2 separate regions of the Homo sapiens genome follow, and region 1 is linked to region 2. The links are contacts of gene promoters, found by promoter capture Hi-C in blood cells and fetal thymus (Javierre and others, 2016). All regions are on one chromosome and are shown on one strand. The core of a region is centred on a gene start or on the middle of the fragment in contact, and the rest is flanking DNA. Distances in the headings are between cores, read along the strand shown.

Region 1 (7,090 bases), core at 4,591-7,090, 180 kb after region 2:
CCACAGTGCCCACAGCAAGCTCAGCAGGAAGGCCGGGTGTGGTGCCTTCATCACCACGCTTGGCCCACACTGGTGTCATGGGTTCTCCGCACCCGTGAGCAGAAGCAGACCGAGGACACCACCCAGCTTTCCTCGTTCTAGATCCACTTCACTCTGTACGCCCCGCCTGGCCCCTGTGGGCACAAGACTTGGGAACCCTACCCGCTGTGCCTTCTGCCCACCCACAAGCCAAACAGTCCCTTCTCCCCAGCAGAGCTTACTGCACCTGGGTGCCTCCTGTCCGTCCTGCACAATCAAATCCGTGACACTGGAGCAGTGGGCTGTGAGCTGCTTGTTGCAGGACATGCTGTGGACGTTGATGATGTAGATGACGGAGTCTTCCGAGCCAACCCACACCTGGTTCTGGTCGGCCATCACCATGCAGTTCTAACAGGAGGCCACGGGAACGTGAGAAATCAGTCAGTCTCGATACTGGTGAAGTCATATTCTATACATTTACTGCACGTGCTGAATTAGCGGATATGGAACCACTGCTCCTAGGGGACACGCCGGCTCAGGGTCCTGGGAGCCTCTGGCCCTGACGTTGTCATCCACCCATCAGTGCATAACCTTGTTCTCCGCGTGCTCTGTTCACAGACACCTTATTGACTACGTATGATTGATTCATTAACACGAAACCCACGGCCGCCAGCACTGTCACTGCGGCCTGAACCAAGCTCATCTCACACATGCATTTTCTCTGCAAGACACGTCACCGCCTCCTTGTGCTTAGGGAGCTCCATGCTTGAGGCTTTCTTAAATGGCAAAATCACCAACGAAAAGCAAAAAATGTGAAAACTGTGGCACCAATCAGGCCGAGGAGAGGACACTTGTTGGCCCAGAAAATCCATATCAGGTGACTCAAGTTTTTCCCCCGTCTGTGCACGTGGATGTCTGTGGATCACCAAGAAAATACCACGAGTATCTGTTTTGGGAGTTACAAGTAAATATTAGCAGGTGGTCGAATTTGCAAATACGGAATCTCCAAATGATGAGACCGACTGTATGTGAACAAGCAGAACTGGCAGTGCTCCCAGTGTCTAGAGAGTGCGCTCAGGGTTTCTGTCTAAGCTAAGCAAAGTCAACATAATGATTGCTTTTAGACTCTTTGAAATCAGAATTTTTATTTTTGTTTGTTTGTTTATTTTGAGACAGAGTCTCACTCTGCCACCCAGGCTGGAGTGCAGTGGCATGATCATGGCTCACTGCAGCCTCAGCCTCCCGGCTCAAGCGATTCTCCCGCTTCAGACCCCCGAGTAGCCGGGACTACAGCCATGGGCCACCACGCCTGGCTGATGCCACCACGCCTGGCTGATGCCACCACGCCTGGCTGATGTTTGGCAGTTTTAGTAGAGATAGGGTTTCCCCACGTTGCCCAGGCTGGTCTCGAACTCCTAGACTCAAGCAATCCTCCTGCTTCGGCCCCCCAAAGTGCTGGGATTACAGGCGTGAGCCACTGCGCCCAGCCTTGAAATGCTTATAACTAAGAACGAACTGAAAAAAATTAAATTTAGAAAAATAATTTCCCTAATTTTTCCTTTTTTTGTTGTTTGGTTTAAAGCATTACTAGACTTTTGTCAATATTTTTACTGTATCATGGATCCTATTACTTTATCATCTGAGGCTCATGATTTGAATATGGGGGGAAATGATTTAGCAGGCTCTTATTACCTTCTAACATGTAAAGTTTGCTATTCAGGTATCTCAAGAGTGGTCCCACCCTCTTGGTGGTATGTATTTGAGTTCACAGTATTTGTTTTATAGCAGTTTTGCAAGCACATACTGTGCCACGGATTTTCCCACATTATTTTTAGACAAGGGAACACAGCCATCAAAACTGATACCATGGCCGGGCGCAGTGGCTCACACCTGTAATCCCAGCACTTTGGCGGGGCCGAGGCGGGAGGACTGCTTGAGCCCAGGAGTTTGAGACCAGCCTGAGCAGCACGGTGAAACCCCATCTCTACTCAAAATACAAAAATTAGCCGGGTGTGGTGGTGCGCACCTATATAGCCCCAGCTACTCGGGAGGTCCAGGCTGCAGTAAGCAGCGATTGTGCCACTACACTCCAGCCACGGGCAATGGGAGAGGGACCCTGTCAAAAAAAAAAAAATGGTACCAGCCAATGCCTAATATATACTTAGGTATATACTCCACTGGAGTGTTCTTTTCACATTAAACATGTAAAAAAAAAAAAATCCTATCATGCTCAAGGAGTAAGGCATGAGGATTTCTCAGCAGATCCCATGATGGGGTGGCTGCTTGGAGGGTGACCAGATAGGAGGAGAGTGTAGATGCGAAAATATTTTGAAAACTATAAAATGCAATTTAAATGTGAACGTCATCTGCAAATCCATGAGCAAGAACAGGAGAAACATGGACAAAGGGCGCGCAGGCCACGGTGCGGGGGAGTGTGGGGTCTCAGAGCACGGGGAGCTACTCAGCGGCCTCTCGGGCGACAGGGAAGCGCACACAGATCCGCAGGGAGGGGCAGCTCACAGCGCTGACGGGCAAACAGGGAAAATCCCCAAGAAATGATGGTCTGCAGGCAGGAGGGGCCGCTGGGGGCCTGGAGGGATGAGCAGGGCAGGAATCCCAGCTTCCACACTCAAGATACCATGGTCATGGAAGAAGCGACACACCATGGCACTGCCAAGGACACACTACTAAAAATGTATTAACAGTTGCACTTGTTTTAAAATTATCAGAAACAATTCAAACTTGCTTTAAATCAGGGGTGTGCACTCTTGTGGCTTCCCTGAGCCACAGTGGAAGAAGAATTGTCTTGGGCCACACATAAAATACACTAACATTAACGATCGCTGATGAGCTAGAAGGAAAAAGATTGCAAAAAAAACTCAACATATGTTTTAAGAAAGTTTACAAATTTGTGTTGGGCCTCATTCAAAGCCGTCCTGGGCCACGTACAGCCTGCAGGCCACAGGTTGGACAAGCTTGCTCTAAGTGAGAGGAATAATGTGTGACGAGTGGACACTGAGTTTTGCTGGGCCCTGGTCTCTGCCACCTGGCACGTGGGGACAGGTGGATAACACTGAAGTCACTGCAGAGGCAGCTGTCTCCTCTTTTGCTCCAAAAGAGACCCAGTAACCACTGTGCCACCAGGAAACACCAGGGTTCCCAGGAAACACTGCAGGTTCATTTTAAGGCCCTGGTCCCTGGGAACCTTAGTGCTGCAGTACAGGATGGAAGACATCGTTCCCAGCCTGGGCAGCGTGGCAAAACCTCATCTCTACAAAAAATACAAAATTAGCCAGGCATGGTAGCATGCACCTGTAGTCCCAGTTACTCAGGAGACCGAGGTGGATCCCTTGAGCCCAGAAGGTCGAGGCTGCAGTGAGCCATGACTGAACCACTGCACTCCAGCCTGGGCAACAGAGCAAGACCCTGTCTCAAAAAAGAAAAAAAAGAAGGAAATTGTTCCCAAAGTGTGTGAAGCCTGTAATAAGCAGGCAGAGACCACAATGGCTCCACTTCACAGAACTGACGTCGATTTTTATTATTTTATTATTATTATTATTTGTCTGTTTGAGACAGGGTATGGCTCTGTCACCCAGGCTGGAGTGCAGTGGCGCGATCTTGGCTCACTGCAGCCTCGACCTCCCAGGCTCAGCGATCCTACCACCTCAGCTTCCCAAGTAACTGGGACTACAGGCACGCTCCACCATGCCCGGCTAATTTTTGTAGTTTTTGTAGAGATGGGGTCTCACTCTGTTGCCCAGGCTGGTCTCAAACTCCTGGGCTCAAGGCAATCCACCCACCTCAGCCTCCCAAAGTGCTGAGATTAGAGGTGTGAGCCCCTGCAATCTATTTTTAGATGGGGGCCTGAAATCTGTTTTTAGATGAGAAAGTCAAAGCCATTATCTTCTCCTTCAATAAGGACGTGTAAGTAGAAGTTTGGAACAAGCTTACATTTAATTTGAAAACTCCAGGTGAAAGTTAAGACCCCCTGTTTACAGAAACCGAGTGAGGCTGTGGAATAGCTTGTATCCTACTGTCGAATATGGATGAACACACTTGGGTTTCAGAAATCACGTGAATTCAGAGGCTTCTTTCCTGACGCTTCGTGTACTCACCACTTTTGCAGTGCCCACTTTAAAGGAGTGCTGGTGGATGGTCCATGAAGAAGCATTGAACACGGTCACCTTGCCTTCGCTCAGAGCACACCATAACTTGGGGTGAGCATCTTCAACTTTTTCGGCTGGGTCAAGATGCCCTAAAGAGGAGAGCAGCACAAAACTGTTAGGAGGAAACACTTCTGCTGTAGCAGCAGGTGACTGGTGCCCTTACTCAGGTGCCTCCTGGGCCCTCCTAAGCGCCAGGCCCATGTTAGGTGCTGTACGTACAAAGACGTGCCCAGGCAGAGGCTTCCCTGCCCTCTGGGAGCTCAGAGTCAAGGGGGGCAGCTGGCTGGTGAGAGGGCCACAAAGACAGGGTCAGAGCCGCAGGCAGATGCAGAGCCGAATGCCTGTGAGCTTTGCTAAGCCAGGACCTGCCAGCTGAGTGAGCATTCACTAGAGGAAACAGCCAGGCAGAGGGAACTGGAAGAGGAGCAGGTGGACACAGAGGGAGGGAGGCAGGGAGGGAGGGCAGCTGGAGAGACGGCGGCAGGGGCCATGGTGCCCCCCACACCCTCATGTGCAGCGGGCTCCGCGTCTTTCCCAACACTTGCTGGCGTCCGTCCATCTTTTTAATTTCGGCCATTCTAAGGGTGTGGAGCTTTTGGCTTTTAAATTGTGGTTTAATTGCATTTCTCTAATTGCTAATGAGCCTGATGGCTTGAACTGGCCATCCCCATGCCCTCTTGTGGGAAGTGTCTGTTTTTCGTTCTCCCTAGTTTGTGGCTGTTATTTTTTTTTATTTTTATTTTTTTTTACTTTTTAATAGACGAGGTCTTGCCATGTTGCCCGGGCTGGAGTGCAGCAGTGTTCACAGGTGCGATCACAGCAAACCACAGGCTCCGAGTCCAGGGCTCTGGCCACCCTCCCACCTCACTGGGACCACAGGCACGCCCGGCCAGCTGTTCCGGTGTTCTGGATATGAGCCCCTAACTGACTCCATGGTGCTGTATTCATAAATTACGTATGACATATAAAAATACCATAAAGCAAAAGACTGGTGAATCTGACTACATTAAAAGCAATGATTTTAGCAGCACCCATTTTAAAGATCCTTCCCAGTCTGCAGCTTACATTTTCACCCTCTCAAAAGTGTCTTCTGTCCATTTCCTGTGGCAGGGTCTGGGGAAGAGGCTGTAGGCGCCGTGTCCGGCCATGAAGATGGCAAGAAGCCTCTGAGACAGCCCAAGAAGCAGGCCCAGGAGAGGGACAGAGATGATGAGGCTTCCAGCAGAAAGCAAAACAGACCAGAACCTCAAGGGGCCGAAAGCACAGGCCGCAGGGAGGCCCAGCCACAGCTGGAACTAAGACCCCTGGCGGAAAGCACGCTGCTCCCTCTGCCTGGGCGGTGGCGGCCTGGACTCCACTCCTGTTTCAACACCTGCACCCCCGCCAGGACAGCTTTTGCCATCTTCAGCTAGAGTGAGCGTTGCCCTGGAGCCTGTTGCACTTTCAAGCATAAACTTTTCTTTTTTTTTTTAAATTAAAAAAAAAAAAAAACAAAACAAAAAACTGACAGTGTCACCGGACGTCTTCAGTGGCTTCTCACCCGTCATTCCCACCTGAGCCTGCCAGAGGGCGCTCTTTGGTCTTCTACCCTCAATTTTGTGTCACCGTGAATTAAACCAGCTCATTTGAAAGGAGGAAAAAAAAAGTGTCTTCTTTTTAAAATCATTGCTTTTGGCCAGTTGTGGTGGCTCACGCCTCTAACCCAGCGCTTTGGAGTCCAAAACCGGCAGACTGCTCAAGCTCAGGAGTTCAAGACCAGCCTGAGCAATACGGCAAAACTCCATCTCTACAAAAAAAAAAAAAAAAAATACAAAAATTGGCTGGGCATAGTGGTGTGCACCTGCAGTCCAGCTAATCAGGAGGCCGAGGGCGGAGGATCGCTAGAGCCCAGGAGGCAGAGGTTGCAGTGAGGTGTGATCGCGCCACTGCACCTGGGTGACAGAGTCAGACCCTGTCTCAGAAAAAATAAAAATAATAAAGTCATTGCTTTTAATATAGTCAAATTCAACATTCTTTTCCTTTATGGTATTTTATATATAATTTATGCATTTTTTTCTTTACCATAAAGTCATGAAAATATTCTTCTACCCTATCACCTAGAAGTCTGCTTGCTTTCATTGTTCACATTTGCCTTTTACCACCGCGTTGAGGTTTCGGCCCCCTTGGGCCTGACCGCAGGGCAGTGTGAAGGGGCGAGGTTTCACCTTTCCCCTGAGGATATTCAAGCGACCCCCCGCCCTGCAGTGCTGCCTCCGTCCTGAGTCCAGAAGGGCAGGCCTCCCGGTCTTTCTGGGGTGCGATTCCAGTGGTCTGTTGCTCCCATGGGTGAGACACTGCCGTCTCTGAGAGGCACGCTCCCCATGGGCAGAGCCTGAGCTGACCTGTGGCCTGGCCTCAGGGCTGGTTCTCCTAACTCCTAGGAACCTGTCGGAGACCCAGCCCCAAGCTAATGGGAATAACAAGACTCCCCCTTCTTGATGGGGCCTGACCCCACCTCTTGTCCCTGCAATCTCACAAGGCTTGCAAAAGCCCTGCTCGGCTACCAGCTTCTCGGCCACCCCTTCCAGAATCGGCAGCCACAGGAAAAGGCGGTTTCCCCATTCCCCACGGCTGCTTTGCACGCTCTCTGCAGGCCTTCGAGATGCTCCTGGAGGGGAAGCCGCCTGAACTCCTCGCCCGTCACAACAGGAAGCTCAGAGTGAGTTTCATTTCAGGGAAACCAACCGGGACCTAAAAATACCATGTATTCAAATGCCACGGTCAAAGTATCTTGGTCTGTGGAGTCATCTCTGGCGAAGTCAGCACAGAGCCTGGCTTAGACACATCAGGTAGGGCTCACGCGGGGCGGCCCTGATGACGCTGCCTGCTCACTCAGCCAGGGTCTATCGCGTTCCTGGGTTTCTTGG
Region 2 (7,459 bases), core at 3,165-5,664:
CCCCAGGCTCCTGGACCCATGGCAAGGCCAGGCAGAGCCAGTGTGAATCCTGGGAGAGCCTGCAAGGCTGGTCACCAGACCTCCTCCACCAGCAATCCCTCCCGGATTGGGTCTTAGGAGCCTGGGGCTTTCCCTCTGCTTTCTCACCAATAAGCCCCGCGCTGCTGTCCCCCGCCATTCCCTGCGGGGACCCTCCCTGGGCTCCATGGGGCTCAAGGCTGCAGCTTCTTCCGTGTGGGCCCCTTCAGCAGTACCAGCCCACACTGAGTCTCACCACCTTGTGCCAGCTGTGGCCAGGGCCACAGCCCTGCCAGACCCCATGATGAGGCAGTGTTCTGTGGGTGCCCCTTCCCACAGTCCATGAGACTGGGTTTAACAGAAGGGTACTGGGGGGCTGCAAGCCAGGCATGGTTCCAGCCAGGGTCTGCATGCCCCATTTGCTGTGTGACTTTGGACAGGCCTTCCTCCCTTTCTGGGCCTCAGTTTCCCTGTGTGTAAGAGCAGATGTTGAGACAAGATGCCCTGGGGGGAACCCTCAGTGTTGAGCAGGCATAAGGGGGTGCCTTGGGGCACCGAGGGGGCCAGCCCAGAGGGTAGCAGTCCCAGCAGCCACCCTAGGATGACTCCCTAGAGCCCCAGAGCCGCGCGCTAACTGTGCACCAGGCACAGCACCAGGTACCCTGGACGTCCCCAGTTGTGGCTGAGTTCCAGGCATTCAGCCAAGACTGGCCTGGATGATCCCGGACTCTGGGTACTTCCCCACCCACCTCTCAAAGGCTCTGCCCTGCAGGGTCTCATAGCCTGCCCTGGTTCTTCTAGCCTCCACCCCTGGAGCCCCGACATGCTCTGCTACCGTGGGGTCCGCGTCTTCCCCTCAGATAGGAGGAGGCCGCAGACTGGGCCCAGGCTGCCCCTCACTGCTGTGGGCCTTGGGGCTGGTCCTGTCCCTGTACCCCCAGCCCAGTTTCCTTGGTTCCCACTGTGGGGCTGAGCCTCCCTGTGGAGCTGTGATGTGGCCGGCAGGACCCAGCGCTTCCTGAGAGGAGGGACGCCCCTTCCCAGCCGTGAGCACAGGCCACAGGGCCAAGGCTGAGGATCAGAGCAGACAAGGGAGGCGCCAGGCTGGGCTTGAACCCAGGGCTGCACAAGGGGCCCCCACATTCCCTGGACATGCAGGCTCACCTCTCCCTGGGGCAGAGAAAGGCTCCTGCCCACCCCAGCTCAATGGCAGGTGCCTGCCCGCTACCCAGCAAGTCCAGAGTGCAGGAGAGGGCCTGTGGGCACTGGACCCCCCAGGAAGGAGCCTGCAGGTCTCCCGATCACCCCTCATCTGGAAGCTCTGCACTCCCCCTCTGCCCCTCCTCCATAGCTCTGGCCTCTCGAGTAGGTGGGAGTCCTGCAGAGCTGGCTGGCATCACCCCACCTTCGCAGGCCCCCTTGGGAGGACCTCACCCCTGGACACATGGCAGAAAACGGCTGCCAGCCTCCCGGGGCTGTTTACATCCTCGAGTGGCACCAAGACGAGGGTCTCTCAGGAGGACAGACGAGGTCTGCGGTGTCAGGCACCAGCAGGGGTGGCAGAACCCGCCTGTCACCACCATCTGCTGTTCCCCATTATCCTGAGCCCTCTCCACCCCGGGGACTGCTCAGTGGCCCGTTGTTGGCTTCATCCCTCAGGATGGGGACCCTACAGTGCCAGCACTGCCCATGATGGGCGGGGCTTGTCAGTCTTGATTGCAGCGTTATGGGATTCCCAACTGCAGCTGCCACAGCGAGAGGGCCTTGGCGTCACAGGCCAAGGGTGGAGGACAGGAGCCATGGGTCCACCTGGCTCCCATGGAGGTTCACAAGGGGCCACTTCTGCCTCCTGCCCAGGGTGGCCTGGTAGCCCTGCTGGCGGCTCATGTGGAGATATCATTGTGGCGCTTCCCTGCACCCTGTCCCTTGGGGAAGGAGGAATGGTAGGCTGCTGATGCCTCACCGCTGGCAGGGCCTCCAAGGATGCTTCCATGGGCTTGAGAGGGCTCTCCACCAGGCCCAGTTCCCTACAGTGTCTGCCCAAGGGGCCCCTCCCACCCTGCAAAGTGTGCCAGAGCCCAGGATGAGCAGTCCTGCCCTGCGAAGGGCCAGTCAGACACACCTGAAGGGGTCCTGACCCTGGGCACAGCCACTCTCTGACCTCTGACCCCTGACCCCAGTCACAGACAGCCTGGCCTGACCTGCCAGCCTGATAAAGATGACAAGGAGGAAATTGTCCCTGTGCCCTGTCTCCTCTGAGGGTTGTGGAGTGTTGGCCCTGAGCTCGGGACCCCCATCCCTGGTGTCCCCCCAAGAGGATCCCTGGGTCCTGCTGAGAAGAGTCTCCCTGGGGGAGGAGTCAGGGAGGCTGGCGTGGGCTGTGACCCCTCCCCAGGCAGTTCCCCGCTGTTTGCTGGGGGACCGTCTCTGAGATTTCTCTGAGAACAAGCCTGAGAGTGCAAGGCTGGAGCCCCAGGCCCTCAGAGGTGGGCATGAGGCCTGGCACTGGTGCGGTGACTCAGCCACCCTCGCCTGCTCAGGAAATCTGAGCCTCCTCTGGCTCCAGCCCTGCCCAATCTGGGCTGCCTCCAGGCCACCCCCACACAAAAATGACATTGCATCCACCCCCACCTTCCACAAGCCCGGTGAAACCCTGCCTGCCAGGAGCCAGTCCTGGTCCAGAGAGGTGCAAGAGGCTGGTGGCCAGAGACTCCTGTGCCTCTCTGGGCCTCAGTTTCCCCAGCTAAAACAGACACAACGATGTTCTAAAGGAGATAATTGCAGCCTGTGGGCTCAGCCCTGCAGCCGCAGGGAGGCTGCTCCAGAGTGAAGAAACCATCCTCTCCCAGAACTTTCAATGGCTCCCTGTTGCAGCACTCTGGTACCCATAGAGGCTGCTGAGACTCAGTGTAGAAGTCCCCTGCCCACTCCCAGCTTTGCTCCCCAGGAAATATTCTGATGGCCTCCTGTCCCTCTGCCCATCTGGGCTGCCTGCCTCCTGTTATACCTCCCTCTGCCCCTTCCAGGAAGCCTTCCCAGACGGCATCCCTCCCCAGCAGGCTGGGTCAGGACCCTAGGGCCCACCTACTCTCTCCTGTTGGTCTGCATTACAACCAGCCTGAGCTCGGGAAGGCCCAGCCCCTCCCTTGGGGAGCCTTCCCTGAGTCTCCGGTGTGCAGTACAACCCACTCAGCAGGGCCTCGGCACTCAGGCGGCTGGAAGGTTAAAGTGTGAGTATCAGCAGAAGCACACGGGATGGGAACAAGAGGAGATGGTGCTCTCGGCAGAGGAGACACTAACTAAATGGCCCCAACCGCTCCCCGACAACCCCCGCTGCCACCCCAGGCTGGCCACAAGGCCTCCTGGCTCTGAAGCTGTCTGGGGAGAGTGGCCCTCCAGCAGCCCTCTGGGATCAAGCCTGTTGATGAGCTCACGCTTCCTCCAGCACTGAGGTCCGGGTCCCACACGCTCTCCCCACCTGCTGGCCTGGGTCACGTCCAGGTCTTTCCCACACACCTGACCCCACATGCCACATGCCACCGGTGCATGGGTGCAAACAGAGGCCCAGATGCCAGGTGTGCAGGCTGTCGGTCATGGGTACACACAGACACAGCCAAACCCAGGACACATGCAAAACAGAGAGCCATGCAGGAACCCAGGCTTGCGTGGGCTGAAGCTACCATGCACATGCCCCCTCCCGGGAAGGAAATTGGGCTTTCGTGTGCTCCCACCTCCTGTCCCGCACACAGCACGCACAAGTGCCAGCCACCATCTCCTGGATGGTGCAGCTGAGACTCAGCCCCTCCGTGCCTCAGTTTCCCCCTCCTGCCCCCCACACAGCACACACAAGTGCCAGCCACCGTCTCCTGGATGGTGCAGCTGAGACTCAGCCCCTCTGTGCCTCAGTTTTCCCCTCCTGCCCCGCACACAGCACGCACAAGTGCCAGCCACCATCTCCTGGATGGTGCAGCTGAGACTCAGCCCCTCCGTGCCTCAGTTTCCCCCTCCTGCCCCGCACACAGCACACACAAGTGCCAGCCACTGTCTCCTGGATGGTGCAGCTGAGGCTTAGCCCCTCCGTGCCTCAGTTTCCCACCTCCTGCCCTGCACACGGCACACACAAGTGCCAGCCACCACCTCCTGGATGGTGCAGCTGAGGCTCAGCTCCTCGGTGCCTCAGTTTCCCCCTCTGTCTCCAGTGGGTGTGGGGACTCTGGTGCCCCAGGCCCCTCTGTGCCTCGGTTTCTTCTTCTGTCTCCAGTGGGTGTGGGGACTCTGGTGCCCCAGGCACCGTCCCTCAGGCTCTGAGCCTTGACTCCTCCTGGGGGCGGGGAAGGAGCCTGCCCCGCCCCCACCCTGCCTTTGCCCAAAAGGAGCCCCAAGCGCTGGCCTGACGTCAGGCCGTAGGAAGGCGAGGTCCGGGCTGCATGCAGAGCTGAGAGCTGAGGACTCCCATCTCCAGCCTGCCCGGGTGAAGCGCGGTAAGTTCCCCTGTGGGCTGGCCCCAGCCTCCCTCTCCCCAGCTTCCCTAGATAGGAGGCTCCTGAGCTGCTCCCTGCAGGGGTTCTCACCCCCAGCCAAGCAGGAGTGGGAAGGGCAGGGCAGAGAAACTGCCTCCAGATCCGGGCTGGGGAGAGCTCAGAGCAGGTCCTGCTGGACAGGGAGCCATTTCTCAGATGAGAAAACAGAGACCTGAGGGAGAACATGGGCGTGAGTTGGGCTGGCTGCATAAGGGGGAGCTGCGCTGCTAGGTGCCCACCCAACTCTGGATTTCATTCATTCACTCATTCATCCCTCCGTTCAACACTCACCGAGCATCTGCTGGGTGCCCAGAGCTGGGTCTTGGTTTCCCCACCTGGCAAGGCAGCAGGGTGGCCCACAGGCCAAGCCAGGGACAGAGTTGGGGGACCCCAGAGGCACTTGGCAGGCTCTGGGGCCTCAGCCACCACCACCCCGCAGCTGGGGCAGGGCCATGGTGAGGGCTTTGTGGGCATGGGCTCCAAGCGCCATGCTCCCTCTTCAGAGTGCCCGTCCTGCCATCCCACAGCTCAGGCCCTCTGCAGTAGCCTTGGTGCTGTCTCTACCCCTTAGGGGTGGGGAAACTGAGTCCCAGGGAAGGCTTGCTTGCCAGCCCTCAGTGTGGACCTAGAAGCTGGCTCCAGCCCCGCGAAGCTCGCACTGGGACTGCGCTGTGAGAAGGCGGCAGGACAGGGTCCCGAGGGGGCAGCGGGCTGGGAACTGGCCAGCAGCCAGGGTGCTGGCGGGGCAGACGTGGAGCAGCTGGCGACCTCGCAGGACGGGGAATGCACCCCGCAGGAGGCTGGGCCTGTCCACTTGCCCTGTCTTCTTCCTTCAACAGCTGGTCATCCTGGGTCTTCCCTCCCCTCTCCCCCCAGGACTCATCCAGTCGCTGGGCTCCAGGGCGGTCTGCTGAGTGGCCGTGGCAAGTCGCTGCCCCTCTCTGAGCCACACGGTGTGGGCCCATCAGCAAAGGCGGGGTCTGCGGCTGGAGAGCCGGGCGTGGGGGCCATGCAGTTTGGACCATTTCTGAGCAGCTCCTGGAGCCCACGGGGTGGCTTCATTGTCTTCTTGTTAAGTGGTATTAGCATCTCCTCTTTATAGATGAGGAAACTGAGGCTCAAGGAGATCAGAGGGGTATTCTAAAATCATCCACTCCATCACTCAGCAGTGACTCAGTGACTCAGAGGGGCCAGCCAAGGCCAGGGCCCCTGAGGCACTCCAGTTCAGTGAGGGAAGCACAGCGAACAGGAAAGCAGGGACATAGGGAACTGCGCGTGGCAGGGCACTGCGAAGGAAGCCAGGCGGTGCAGGCGTGCGGGGCTGTGGGCTCTGGAGGGCCTCCCTGAGGAGGGGCGTCAGGGCCCAAAGAACCTTAAGTTGATCCCCTCACCATACGTCCCAAAGCCCTCCCCACGCCCCCGGTGTCTCACAGAGCCCTGAACACAGACTCTCCTTCCCACCTCTGGCCCTTCATGCTCACTGTGCCCTTCCTGCTGCCGGGAGCGCTCTTCCCTCTGATTGTCCTGAGGCCCATCCCGGCCGTGACCAGCCACCTCCCACCCTACCCTGAGCTGTCAGCTCGGAAAGGTGGGGCCAGGTCTGCCTGGGACCCATTTGTGCCCGCAGTGCTGGGGTCTAAGTCCTGGTCTGACACCTCCAAACTGCACGGGGCTGTGTGGCCTGGGGCCTCTGATTCCCTCCACACACAGGGCTGGGTGCCGCAGAAGGCTGATCCCAGGCACTGGGACAAAGTGCCAGCAGGCAGATTGAGGCAGAGCTCAGCCCCTCCTGCACCCCAGCTGGGTGAGCCCGGACACATGACTTAGCCCCTCTGTATTGGTTCCCCACAGGCACAGTGGGGCCAGAAACACCCACCCAGGGGCATCTTGAGGGAAGTCAATAAGACCCTGGGAAGGATGAGCCCAGCGGGTGCCCTTCAGATTGTGGGATCATAGCTCTCCCCCTGGGGCAGGGGCATCCAGGGCACTAGGGCATCAGAGGGGCTCAGGGAGAGCTCTGTGGAACAATGACTGTGGGTGCCCGGAGCCTTCACCAGGTGGCACAGGGAGAGAAACAGCATTCCGGGCAGAAGGAACAGCACATGCAGAGGGAAGAGGCTGAGAGGACCAGGCTGAGGAGCTTCAGGCGGAAGGACCAGGCTGAGGCCAGGCAGGTGCACATGACAGAATGCCTGTCCCAGCAGCTCCTGGAGAGGCTGAGGTTGGGGAGGGGTTTCAGGAGCTGCTGCAGCTACGGCTATCCCAGCTAGAGGTGAGCAATGAACTCGGTGATGGGGAGGAAAGGAGGGGCTGGTGGGTGACACGCAGGACCTCCAACTGGCCATGCCCCTCCCAGAGACACCCAGCTAGAGGTGAGCAATGAACCCAATGATGGGGAGGCAGGGAGGGGCTGGCAGGTGACATGCAGGACCTCCAACTGGCTATGCCCCTCCCAGAGACACTGGTGTTTCCGTTAGAGCCGCAGTCTCAGCAAGAGGGCTCTTAGCTGGTGGAACTGAGGCAGAGTCGGGTCAGATGGGGCCCAGGTGTCCTTCCCCACAGAGCTCAGTCTGTGCCCACCAGTGACGTCTCTCTCTGCACTGGGGTGGAGGGAGCCCTGGCCTGTGGGCGTGGGGGACAGGGAGAAAGACTTGGCTTCTGGCCAGGGTCACCTGGGACTTGCTAGGTGACCTGGGGTGAGTCTGACCCCATTTGGAGAGCTCAGCAAGCACCCACCTGCCTCTTGGTGGAAGAAACGGAGGCTCAGACTTATCAAAAACAGCAGATGATATTCAAAAGCAGATGCTGTGAAACCAAGAATAATCATAAAAATAAACAGGCAGACAGTTCCCCGAATCATGGCTATTTTAGCCCTGGAAGGCCATGAGGGCCACGCCGTCTGGGGTGCAGGCTCAAGCACA

Evidence for each region. Contacts are between HindIII fragments. The CHiCAGO score rates a contact against its expected background, and 5 or more counts as called.
Region 1: a fragment that was not itself captured here is called in contact with the fragment with the promoter of GPR20 in region 2 in 1 of 17 cell types (neutrophils); the score reaches 6.1 in neutrophils.

What each region holds. Positions count from the first base shown.
Region 1 is chr8:141,182,322-141,189,411 of GRCh38, reverse strand. DENND3 (DENN domain containing 3) reads right to left here. Exons shown (of 23, transcript NM_001352890.3): 18 at 4,134-4,273; 19 at 266-426. Among named protein-coding and RNA genes, the nearest start is that of DENND3-AS1, 56 kb to the right of the region's middle. RefSeq lists enhancers at 4,056-5,010, 5,711-5,850, 5,931-5,980, 6,741-6,850. The HindIII fragment of the contact is 3,747 bases long and covers 3,967-7,090 here.
Region 2 is chr8:141,364,241-141,371,699 of GRCh38, reverse strand. It overlaps GPR20 (G protein-coupled receptor 20), which reads left to right and starts at 4,414. Exons shown (of 2, transcript NM_005293.3): 1 at 4,414-4,499. RefSeq lists a silencer at 2,555-2,737 and an enhancer at 3,102-3,651. The HindIII fragment of the contact is 50,298 bases long and covers 1-7,459 here.